Regions from separate parts of the Homo sapiens genome. Here all the other regions are linked to region 3. The links are contacts of gene promoters, found by promoter capture Hi-C in human tissues and cell types (Jung and others, 2019). All regions are on one chromosome and are shown on one strand. The core of a region is centred on a gene start or on the middle of the fragment in contact, and the rest is flanking DNA. Distances in the headings are between cores, read along the strand shown.

The links. Contacts are between HindIII fragments. The study calls those that stand out against the background at their distance.
Region 1: a contact is called between the fragment with the promoter of RGS11 here and the fragment with the promoter of POLR3K in region 3, in 1 of the 25 tissues and cell types used here (H1 embryonic stem cells).
Region 2: a contact is called between a fragment that was not itself captured here and the fragment with the promoter of POLR3K in region 3, in 1 of the 25 tissues and cell types used here (heart left ventricle).

What each region holds. Positions count from the first base shown.
Region 1 is chr16:273,774-277,757 of GRCh38, reverse strand. RGS11 (regulator of G protein signaling 11) reads left to right here and starts at 1,814. Exons shown (of 17, transcript NM_183337.3): 1 at 1,814-1,909; 2 at 2,260-2,356; 3 at 2,425-2,475; 4 at 2,676-2,782; 5 at 3,493-3,544; 6 at 3,657-3,715; 7 at 3,922-3,984. The coding sequence starts at 1,847. RefSeq lists enhancers at 1,898-2,549, 3,737-3,984. The HindIII fragment of the contact is 15,363 bases long and covers 1-3,984 here.
Region 2 is chr16:242,320-246,250 of GRCh38, reverse strand. The region is part of intron 1 of FAM234A (family with sequence similarity 234 member A); the gene reads right to left. Among named protein-coding and RNA genes, the nearest start is that of FAM234A, 9.5 kb to the right of the region's middle. The HindIII fragment of the contact is 7,678 bases long and covers 1-3,931 here.
Region 3 is chr16:51,194-54,857 of GRCh38, reverse strand. It overlaps POLR3K (RNA polymerase III subunit K), which reads left to right and starts at 1,250. Exons shown (of 3, transcript NM_016310.5): 1 at 1,250-1,382; 2 at 3,213-3,300. The coding sequence starts at 1,272. SNRNP25 (small nuclear ribonucleoprotein U11/U12 subunit 25) reads right to left here and starts at 1,030. Exons shown (of 5, transcript NM_024571.4): 1 at 800-1,030. The coding sequence starts at 841. RefSeq lists silencers at 680-779, 920-1,239 and enhancers at 1,570-1,729, 1,458-1,984. The HindIII fragment of the contact is 23,499 bases long and covers 1-3,664 here.

The sequences.
Region 1 (3,984 bases), core at 565-3,064, 220 kb before region 3:
AGGCTGAGGCAGGAGAATTGCTTGAATCTGGGAGGAGGAGGTTGCAGTGAGACGAGATTGCGCCATTGCACTCCAGCCTGACAGAGCAAGACTCAGTCTCAAAAAAAAAAAAAAAAAAAAGATGCTGGCTGGGCATGCCTTTAATCCCAGCACGCTGGGAAGCTGAGGCAGGAGGATGGACTGAGCCCAGGAGTTTGTGACCACCTTGGGCAACATAGTGAGACCTCGACTTAGTTTTTAAAAAATGATCCGACCGGGTGTGGTGGCTCACACCTGTCATCCCAGAACTTTGGGAGGCCAAGGCAGGTGGATCACCTGAAGTCAGGAGTTTGAGACCAGCCTGGCCAACATGGTGAAACCCCATCTCTACTAAACATACCAAAATCGGCCAGGCACAGTGGCTCACACCTATAAGCCTAGCACTTTGGGAGGCCAAGGCAGGCACATCACCTGAGGTCAGGAGTTCGAAACCAGCCTGGCCAACGTGGTGAATCCCTATCTCTACTAAAAATACAAAAATTAGCTGGGTGTGGTGGCGCGTGCCTGTAATCCCAGCTACCTAGGAGGCTGAGACAGGAGAATCGCTGGAACCCAGGAGGCGGAGGCTGCAGTGAGCCAAGACCGCATCACTGCACTCCAGCTTGGGTGACACAGTGAGACTCCGTCTCAAAAACAAAAACAAAAATAAAAATTAGCCAGGCGTGGTGGTGGGAGCCTGTAATCCCAGCTACTCAGGAGGCTGAGGCATGAGAATTGCTTGAATTCAGGAGGCGGAGGTTGCAGTGAGCCGAGACTGCCCGGTGGGGCCTGAAGATCCTGGGCCTGGCTCGGGGTGCACCTGGGGGACAGGCATAGCCATTGGAGGAGGGAGAGAGCTGGGAGTGGAGTGGGGCCTGAAGCCTGGCGGCCGCCGGTGACACTAAGTGGGTGTGTGTTGAGGGCCTCCCTGCAGTAAAGCTCCTCTCCAACAGTGTCAGGGTGCCCTGGGCAGGGTTTCTGCTCATTCCCCAGCGGGCCACCCAGGCCTGCGTGGAGCTGAGGGAAGTGAGCCATGAGCCATCAGCCACTTTCCCGGAAGGACCCCGGATAAGGGACCCACAGCAGGAGATGGGGACAGCTGGGTCACACTCTGCAGCAGCCACGTGCTCCACTGACAGCCGGCATCCGGCCCATGTAGAAAGCTGACCCAATCTCTCATGCACCCTGCCCCTAACCAGCCACCGTCACAGCAATGTATGCAGTCTTGGCCACAAGCATCGCAGGACACAAGGCCTCGGGCAGTCATACCGCTGGCCCTGGCCCCGGCCCCACAGCCAGGCCTCTAGTCCCTGTATGTCCTCAGGGCCCCACACATAGGACCGGGGTTACAGTGGGCCCTAAACCACGTTTCCCACCCCAGTTCACTCTCCCTACGGGTCTCCTCTACTCACGGAACCCCTCTCCCTCTCTGAACCCCCATCCCCTCCGCTGCCCTCCCTGAGACCCTCCCCATAGTAACCCCCCCTCGCTGATGAGCCCCTCTGCCTCTCCCAGAGACCACCCCCTGCTCCAGCTGAGCTCCATCCCCTCACATCCCCCCTCGGCCCCCGGCCCACACCCTCCCCCGTCCCACTTCGCCTTCACCCACGAGGGCCTCAGCGTCCCGGGACCTGGGTCGGGGGGGTGACTCGGGTCGCTCGTGGGGGGCCGGCTCGTTTGCCTCTGGGCCGTGGCCGTGTCTCTTAAAACCCGAACCGGGGCCTGGGCGACTCTGGCCTCGCGGCCCGAGGGTTAACCCGGGCGCGGCGCGGCGCGGGGCGGGGCCGGGCGGGACGTCGGTCATCCCCGCCGGCCTCGCCCCGCAGCCATGGCCGCCGGCCCCGCGCCGCCCCCCGGCCGCCCCCGGGCGCAGATGCCGCATCTGAGGAAGGTGCGAGGCGGGTGGGTGTCCCGCCGTCCCCCGATTTCCCGGCGCCCGAGGCCGGGAGGGGCCGGAGAGCATGGGGACACGGGGGCGCGCGGGGCGGGGCGGGCCTGGGGCGGAGGTCTGCGAGGCCGGGAGGGGCGGCGAGGCCTGGGGCCCTTGGGGGTCTCCGGGGTCTCCCCGGCCCTCCCCGGCCCTCCCCGGCCCGCCCCGCGTCCCCGCCGCCAGCTGCGGCCTGGAATCCGCCGCCGCCGCGCGTTAATCTCCGCGCTCCCGGATCCGGGGCATCCCGGCCGGTGCCAGGGAATCAGGGTTGCGGGGCGGCCAGACACCCCCTGACGACTCCCTCCGCCCAGATGGAGCGGGTGGTCGTGAGCATGCAGGACCCCGACCAGGGCGTGAAGATGCGGAGCCAGCGCCTGCTGGTCACCGTCATTCCCCACGCGGTGACAGGTGAGGCGCGCCGGGGCGGGGGTGCGTGCGCGCCTCGGCCTCCCTCCACCTCTGTCTCTCCCGTGCAGGCAGCGACGTCGTGCAGTGGTTGGCCCAGAAGTTCTGCGTCTCGGAGGAGGGTGAGCGCCCTGCCTCCCACTGGGCCCTGGGGTCACTGGGCTGGTGGCCTAGGCCTGGGTTTTCCTGGAGTCTGGCAGTTCTCAGAGCCCTGCTGAGCGCGCTGTGCAAGGGTGGGGAGCACATAGGGGAGAGGAGGCCCGGCTCGTCCCGCCCTCGCCCGCTTCCGCGGCCCCGCGCTCACCGTCCCACCCCTCCCCAGAGGCCCTGCACCTGGGCGCCGTCCTGGTGCAGCATGGCTACATCTACCCGCTGCGCGACCCCCGTAGCCTCATGCTCCGGCCAGACGAGACGCCCTACAGGTTCCAGGTCAGGCTCGGGGGTGCAGGTGGGAGCCGGTGGGACCCCCACCCCCACCCACCCAGCTTACCAACTCGGGGAGACAGGAGGGGCGCCGAGCTTGCTGGGATTGGAGTGGGACTCCGCCATGTCGCCGTGGGCTGGTGGTCCATCGCCCCCTCCCCAAAAGTCCTGGACCGCAAGTACGGATGTGGTGAGAAGGACCCGGCTGAGGGATGGAGCCTCAGTTTTCCTGGGGACCACAGCAGGGCCCCACAAGGGGTCGTATGTGCAGAGGATTCTGCCATCTTCCTGGGGGTCCCTAGGCCCAGGTCCTGAGGGAGGGGCTGTGAAGGCCTGAGGACAGCATTCCTGCCCTCCCTAACCACATCAGGGTCCCGGGCCGACCTGCCGTCGGTTGTACCCCTCCCCAGGCACAGACTGTGACTACATCCAAGACTTGTGCAGGCCCCCAGCCCCACCCCGCCTTGAATGGGGGCTTAGGGTGACCAGTGAGGGAGGCAGTGTCTGAACAGGGCCCTAAGGAGCGAGTTGACCTCAGTTCTAGTTGGAGAGACTGGCCAGTGGTCAGTGGAGTCTCTCGGTGGTGGGCAGGCAGGGAGATCCTCAGACACCTCCTGCCCAGCCCAGGCTTCTTCCCAGGGAGGTCTGAGGGTGGGGTGACACTGGGGAGGCACAGACGCAGGCGTCCTGGACACCTTCTCCCTGCACCACGCCAGACCCCGTACTTCTGGACAAGTACCCTGAGGCCGGCTGCAGAGCTGGACTATGGTGAGCAAGGGGACGGCTGGCCCCAGACAAGTTCCCAGGACTGGGGGCCTCAGGGTGATGCCGTGAGGCAGGGCAGAGCTGGCCCCTCTGCAGGCTGTCCCTGTTCTTCCAGCCATCTACCTGGCCAAGAAGAACATCCGAAAACGGGGGACCCTGGTGGATTATGAGAAGGTGGGACCCCCCACCCTTCCCGCCCCGGCTGGGTACAGCTGGAGGAACCCAAGCCTCACTCACGGCCCCCCGGGGCTTCACGGTTTACCCCAGAACATACAGCCCAGGCCCCAAAACCCAAGACAGTCCCCAACCCCCCAACTGCCCACACAGTCTCACTGGGGGCAGGGGCCGGGGTGACCCACTGGAAACCTCGCTGCCCCCAGGACTGCTATGACCGGCTACACAAGAAGATCAACCACGCATGGGACCTGGTGCTGATGCAGGCG
Region 2 (3,931 bases), core at 609-3,108, 190 kb before region 3:
AAATGTAAACATTATTATTATTATTATTATTTTTTTGAGACAGAATCTTGCTCTGTCACCTAGGCGGGAGTACAATGGCGTGATCTTGGCTCACTGCAACCTCTGCCTCCTGGGTTCAAGCGATTCTCCTGCCTCAGCCTCCTGAGTGGCTGGGACTATAGGCACCCACCACCACACCCACCACCGCACCCAGCTAATTTTTGTATTTTTAGTAGAGACGGTTTCACCATGATGATCAGGCTGGTCTAGAACTGCTGACCTCGTGATCTGCCCACCTAAGCCTCTCAAAGTGCTGGGATTACAGGCGTGAGCCACTGCGCCTGGCCAAAAATGTAAACATTATTTTTAACAAACATTAAACTAAAAGAAAATAGAAGAGAATGTTTATGTATTGTTAGGGAAAGTCTTGAACGCATGACCCCAAAGGTGGAAATCATTAAGAAAAACACTGATGAACTAAATATATTATGAAATGTCTAACCCAAGCTTGTCCAACCCTCGGCCCAGGATGGCTTGAAGTGTGGCCTAACATAAATTCAGAAACTTTCTTAAAACATTCACAGATTTTTTTGCAATTTTTTTTTTTCAGCTCATCAGCTATCATTAGTGTTAGTGTACTTTATGTGTGGCCCAAGACAATTCTTCCAACGTGGCCCAGGGAAGCCAAAAGATTGTTGTTAGCTCCACAAAACAAACCAGGATAAATATTCTTAGGGTTTTCACAAACCCACAAAAGAAAGGCAAGGACCCCAGTGGGGAAACAGGAAACGAATTCATAACTGGGCAGTTCACTGAAGAGCACACGCCAGTGGCCGGTGCCCAGGGGAAACACACTCAGTCTCACTCATAGACACAGCAGGACCAATGACATTAACAAAAGTTAAGCATTTCATTTTATCTGATCTTGAGACAGGGTCTCACTCTGTGGCCCAGGCTGGAGGGCAGTGGTGATCTAGGCTCACTGCAACCTCCTCCTGCTGGGTTCGAGAGATTCTCCCACCTCAGCCTATAAAGTAGCTGGGACCACAGGTGTGCATCACCGCGCCGGGCAAATTTTTGTATTTTTTGTAGAGACAGAGTTTCGCCACGTTGCCCAGGCTGGTCTCAAACTCCAGGGCCCAAGTGATCTGCCTGCCTCAGCCTCCCAAAGTGTGGGCCACGCCCAGCCTAAAAGTTAAGCATTTTAAAATGTGTTGGTGAGAATATACGATAACAGGTCTGCAGTACAATAGTCGTGGGAATTTGAAATGGTAGTTATTGGTCGAGCGCGATGGCTCATGCCTGTAATCCCAGCACGTTGGGAGGCTGAGGCGGGCAGATCACCTGAGGTCGGGAGTTTGAGACCAGCCTGACCAACATGGAGAAACCCCATCTCTACTAAAAATACAAAAAAAAATTAGCCGGGCGTGGTGGTGCATGCCTGTAATCCCAGCTACTCGGGAGGCTGAGGCAGGAGAATCACTTGAACCTGGGAGGCAGAGGGTGCAGTGGCCAAGATCGTGCCATTCCACTCCAGCCTGGGCAACAAAAGCAAAATTCCGTCTCAAAAAAAAAAAAAAAAAAAAAAAGAGGTTACCATTCAGGGAAGCAGACTTCAGGGTCCAGCCCTGTGCTATTTTTACAACATTTTGTGAATCTATAAGTAGTCCAAAATAAAAAGTATAAAATAGAAAATCAAAAGAGAAAAGAAAACCGTTAGTAAGGGGGAGTGGGGTCAGAGGTTCATGTAAGTTTTAGAGGAAGAACCAGCTTCTCCACAGGCAGCTTGGTTTGTGCCTCAAAGCTACCTTAATATGAAGCTATTTTGTTCCAAAGGCAGGAGTCCTTTTAGTGTTTTGTTTATTTTTGGAAGAATATCAATAGTGGAGTTTTGTGGTAGCCTGAAGAAATACTGAAAGAAGAGCCAAACCCCTGGCATGTTACAATTCTCCATTACAAAATAATCACCAGCTTCCTCAAAACCATCCATTAAAATCATTTTCCGACCGGGCGCGGTGGCTCACGCCTGTAATCCCAGCACTTTGGGAGGCCAAGGCGGGTGGATCACAAGGTCAGGAGATCGAGACCATCCTAGCTAACACGGTGAAACCCCATCTCTACTAAAGATAGAAAAAATTAGCCGGGCGTGGTGGCGGGTGCCTGTAGTCCCAGCTACTCAGGAGGCTGAGGCAGGAGAATGGTGTGAACCTGGGAGGCGGAGGTTGCAGTGAGCCGAGATGGCACCACTGCACTCCAGCCTGGGTGACAGAGCAAGACTCCGACTCAAAAAAAAAAAAAATCATTTTCCTTTCCACTGTGGGGAAAAAACGGATATGCACAGCATTTATAACAATACTCCCCAAATACTTACCTGAGCAAATGCCAGAGTTTAAAAGGGGTCGTCTCCAAAGTCAGACAATGTGGTGACAATGAAAATGCCCCAAGGGGTGGGAACTCTTACTGCTATACAGCCTCTGCACATGCTTTCACACCGGCCTGGCCACAGAAAAGGGGTGTGTGTTTAACACGAATAAGGCCTGTCTTTGGAAAATTAAAAAGCTGGTCAGGAATTCCTTCACAGGATCTCCAGGTAAGACTTCCTTTTTGGAAACTTGACTGAGCCACCAGAAATAGGGGTAGTTATTAAAAGCCACAACGGCAAGGCAGCCAAAGCCAGGCAGTTCATGATTCAACCAGTTTGCAAATAAAGACACCATGAGACAGGTCCAAAGATTTGCTCATCAACAGCAAGAAGATACCAATGTTTTTCTCTACTGCGGTCATTAAAAATACCAGGAGCCGTAGCCAGAGCTTCAGGAACCTGACTGGCAGAGAAAATCCCCATGGACCCAGGTCAGAGAGACTTGAGCAGGGCACTGTCCTTGCTCTACTTTAGCATCCATACCATTGACCACAGAGAGTCAGGCCATGTGGCTATTTAAAAAAACAGAAAACAGAACTCAACAAGCTAATAACCAAAAATTTAACTTCATGGCCGGGCAGGGTGGTTCACGCCTATAATCCTAGTGCTTTGGGAGGCTGAGGCAGGAGGATGACTTGAGGCCAGGTGTTCGAGACCAGTCTGGGCAACATGGGGAGACCCCATCTCTACAAAAAGTAAAATAAAATTAGGTGTAGTGGCATGTGCTTGTAGTCCCAGCTACCTGGGAGGCTGAGGTGGGAGGTTAGCTTGAGCCCAAGAGGTTGAGGCTGCAGTGAGCTGTGATCATTATCACTACATTCCAGTTTGGGCAACAGAGTGAGACCTTGTTTCAAAAAAAAAAAAAAAAGTGAGGGCTCAGAAAGAAAAGAAAATTTGTCAATACAATACGTATTAATTAAGGTAAAAGACCTGACACGGGATGGGCGTGGTAGCTCACGCCTGTAATCCCAGCACTTTGGGAGGCTGAGGTGGGTGGATCGCAAGGTCAGGAGTTCGAGACCAATTTGGCCAACATGGTGAAACTCCATCTCTACTAAAAATACAAAAAATTAACCAGGCGTGGTGATGTGCATCAGTAATCCCAGCTACTCAGGAGGCTGAGGCAGGAGAATCGCTTGAACCCGGGGGGCAGAGGTTGCAGTGAGCTGAGATAGCGCCATTGCACTCCAGCCTGGACGACAGAGCGAGACTCTGTCTCAGAAAAAAAAAAAAAAAAGGAGCTGACACCAAGAATAACTTGAAGAAAGAAAGATAAACACAATACCTCATATATGGTTATTCAAACGGATTATTCCCCTGGCCTACAGAACTATCAGTAAGCCCGCGGTGACTCGTGCCTATAAACCCAGCATTTTGGGAGGCCGAGGTGGACAGATCACTGGAGGACAGGAGTTCAAGACCAGGCTGGCCAACATGGTGAAACCCCGACTCTACTAAAAATACAAAATTAGGTGGGTATGTTGGTGTCTGCCTATAGTCTCAGCTACTGGGAAGGCTGAAGCACGAGAA
Region 3 (3,664 bases), core at 1-2,500:
AATACAAAAAATTAGCCGGGCGTGGTGGCGCGTGCCTGTAGTGAACCCGGGAGGGGGAGGTTGCAGTGAGTCGAGATGGCACCACTACACTCCAGCCTGGCAACGGACCAAGACTCAGTCTCAAATAAATAAATAAATAAATAAAAAGACAGTATCGTCCCAAAGCATGATACTGACGCTTTGACACATGATTGACGCTTGAGGCAAATGGAACAATCAGTACTACTAATCTTGCTCTTATTTAAAACTAAATTTTTCTTTTACCGTAGGCTCTTTTTTTGCCTCAACTTTGACTTTTAAAGGTATTACAGGCCAGGCGGGTGGCTCACACCTAAATCCCAGCATTTTGGGAGGCCGAGGCAGGAGGATCGCCTGAGCCCAGGAGTTTCAGATCAGCCTGGGCAACATAGTGAGACTCCCTCTGTACAAAATATTTAAAAATTAGCCGGGTGTGGTAGCGCGCACCTGTGGTCCCAATTACTCGGGAGGCTGAGGTGGGAGGACGCCGCTGCACTCCAGCCCGGGCAACGCAGCAAGACCCTGTCCCCCGAGCCCCCTAAATACAATTACATTAAAATGTCATTTGATGTCACTCACTAATGAGGTTTTTGGTTCCTCTTTAAGCTTCGCGCCCCAGGCGAGTGCGCCCGGTCAAGGTTAAAACCCTCGTTTACGCCCAGAGGCGCCTTCCTCAGCCTTGGGCCGCAGTCTCCCACCAGCACCTTCGGAGGCTGCCGGCGCCCGGATGCCCGGACCCCGGGGAACGACTCCCGCGCCCCCAGCCCCCGCCCGCACACACCTGGATCGGCAGATCGCAGAGCAGCGGGTCCTGCACCACCATAGCCAGACCCTCCTGGAACACGTCCATGGCCTCGGAGTGCGGCAGCGCCTCTTCTTCGTCCTCATCTTCCTCTTGCGCCTCGGGCCCACCCGCGGCCTCCGTCTCCTCCAGGGCCGCCCCTCTCAGCCGGGCTCTGCCCGCACTGCCAGCCCGCACTAGGGAGGCCAAGCGCGCACGCGCAGGAACTGCGGCCCGCCCCAGCGAGGCCGCCCAGCCACTGGCGCGCCGGGGGGGGTGGGGCGGCTGCAGTGACCAATGACAAGTGCGAGACAGCCTGCAGCAGGGCCGGGAGCGCAGAATCGCCCTGTCTATTGGTTGGTTGGTGTGGCGGGAAGGCTGCCAGGACCAATGTGAGCTCGAGGCGGGCGGCGCATCGGCGCTGAGCGGCAGTGGGAGCTGCCGGGAGTTGGAGCCTGCGGAGTTCGAGACCATGCTGCTGTTCTGCCCCGGCTGCGGGAACGGGCTGATCGTGGAGGAGGGACAACGCTGCCACCGCTTCGCCTGCAACACGTGCCCCTACGTGCACAACATCACCCGCAAGGTGGGACCCGAAGGCCGGCGCTGGGCGCGGGCGACTCTCGCAGGCCTTCCGCGTCCTCCGACTGCTGCTCCATCGCCGCCAGCCCCGGCGTCTGCCTCTGTCCGCTCTTTCTCGCGCCCCTTTCTGGTCTGCAGCAGATCTGTGGGCTCTACTTTCCAATACACTCAGAAAGCCCCACCGTTTCCCACCGCCTTGGGTTCCTGCTCCCACGCTCGCGCCCTTCTCTGCGTTCACAGCGGCGGCCACGGTGATTTCCTTAAAGCTGAGGCACGCAGGTCCGTGCTGTGCGCAGAAACCTTCGGCTCTTCTCCAGCTCACGCAGACGAAAAGCCGGAGTTCTCCCAGGGCCTACCAGGTTCCGACACTGACTCCCTCCCCTGCGTGCGTCTCCGATTTCAAGTCCTAATGCCCTTCCTGTTGCCCTTTGCCGCATCAACACCGCCTCCTGGACGATCTCTCATCGTGCTCATGGTGCTAGCAGGGCCTTTGCACTTGCTGTTGCTCAGTTCACTCTTCCCCTAGATCGCCACCTTACTCATTGGTCTTGTCTTTACCGTATTTTAAATTTCAGCCCCTCCTTCCAATTTATTCTCCTTCCCTTTGTAATTGTTTCCATAGGGCTTATTACCTTCTAATATATTATGTAATGTATTGTGTGCTTTCTTTATTTTTTTTTATTGTTTTTTTTTTTTTTTTTTTTTTTTTTTTTTGAGACGGAGTCCCGCTCTGTCGCCCAGGCTGGAGTGCAGTGGCGCGATCTCGGCTCACTGCAAGCTCTGCCTCCCGGGTTCACGCCACTCTCCTGCCTCAGCCTCCCAATTAGCTGGGACTACAGGCGTCCGCCACCACCCCTGGCTGATTTTTTTGTATTTTTAGTAGAGATGGGGTTTCACCGTGTGTTAGCCAGGACGGTCTCCTGACCTCGTGATCTGCCCGCCTCGGCCTCCCAAAGTGCTGGGATTACAGGCGTGAGCCACCGCGCCCGACCTTTTTTTTTTTTTTTTTTTTTTTTTTTTTTTTTTTTTTTTTGAGACAGAGTCTCGCTCTGTTTCCCAGGCTGGAGTGCAATGGCGTAATCTCGGCTCACTGCAACCTCTGCCTCCCGGGTTCAAGCAATTCTTCTGCCTCGGCTTCCCGAGTAGCTGGAATTACAGGCGCCTGCCACCATCCCCGGCTAATTTTTGTATTTTTAGTAAAGACGGGGTTTCACCGCGCTGGCCAGGCTGGTCTCGAACTCCCAACCTCAGGTGATCCGCTTGCCTTGGCCTCCCAAAGTGCTGGGATTATAGGCGTGAGCCACCACGCCTGGCCAGAATACCTTTACTTTTTAGCAGTTAGAATATGTTGGTGCTACGTCAGTCTTAATGTTTGCATGCTACTCCAGTTTGTACTGTGTTGTGGGAGTTTGGAGTTTGAAACTACGGGAAGAGTGAACTCTTTGTTTTTTTTTTTTTTTGAGATGGAGTCTTGCTCCGTAGCCCAGGCTGGAGTGCAGTGGTGTGATCTCGGCTCACTGCAAGCTCCGCCTCCCAGGTTCACACCATTCTCCTGCCTCAGCCTCCTGAGTAGCTGGGACTACAGGCGCCCGCCAACACGCCGGGCTAATTTTTTGTATTTTTAGTAGAGACAGGGTTTCACCGTGTTAGCCAGGATGGTCTCGATCTCTTGACCTCGTGATCCGCCCGTCTTGGCCTCCCAAAGTGCTGGGATTACAGGTGTCAGCCACCACGCCCAGCCGAGTGAACTCTTATGTAATCCTGAAATTTAAGGTTTGGCAGCCCAGGTTTGCGCTATTCAGTTACTTGGAGTCTGAAGTGTTGTTTTTGTTAGGTAACAAATCGGAAGTACCCAAAACTGAAAGAAGTGGATGATGTGCTTGGTGGAGCAGCTGCCTGGGAGAATGTTGACTCTACTGCAGGTAAGAGGGAAAACTGTTTCTGTTGCTAAACTGTGGATAATTATGAGGCTGTTGATGCCACTGCTTGGCAGAGTCTATGATGTCATATAAATGATGTAGGTTTCTAAAAATAGAAAATGGTTCTTGAATAATTTATTTGTATTTGTTACTGTTTAATAATCTGTCAGACAAGCAATATTTGTGCCAGCCTTGGAGTCATACAGGCCCGGGTCAGATTCTCAGGGCAACCTTGTATTGTTGTAGGACCTTCCTTGGGTCTCTTGACTTCTCTGGGGCTAATCCATATTCGTAGACCGCGAGAGCATAAAGTGAATTATACCGTGCTTGGTATATAAGAGGCACTCAACAGGTGATAGCTTTGATA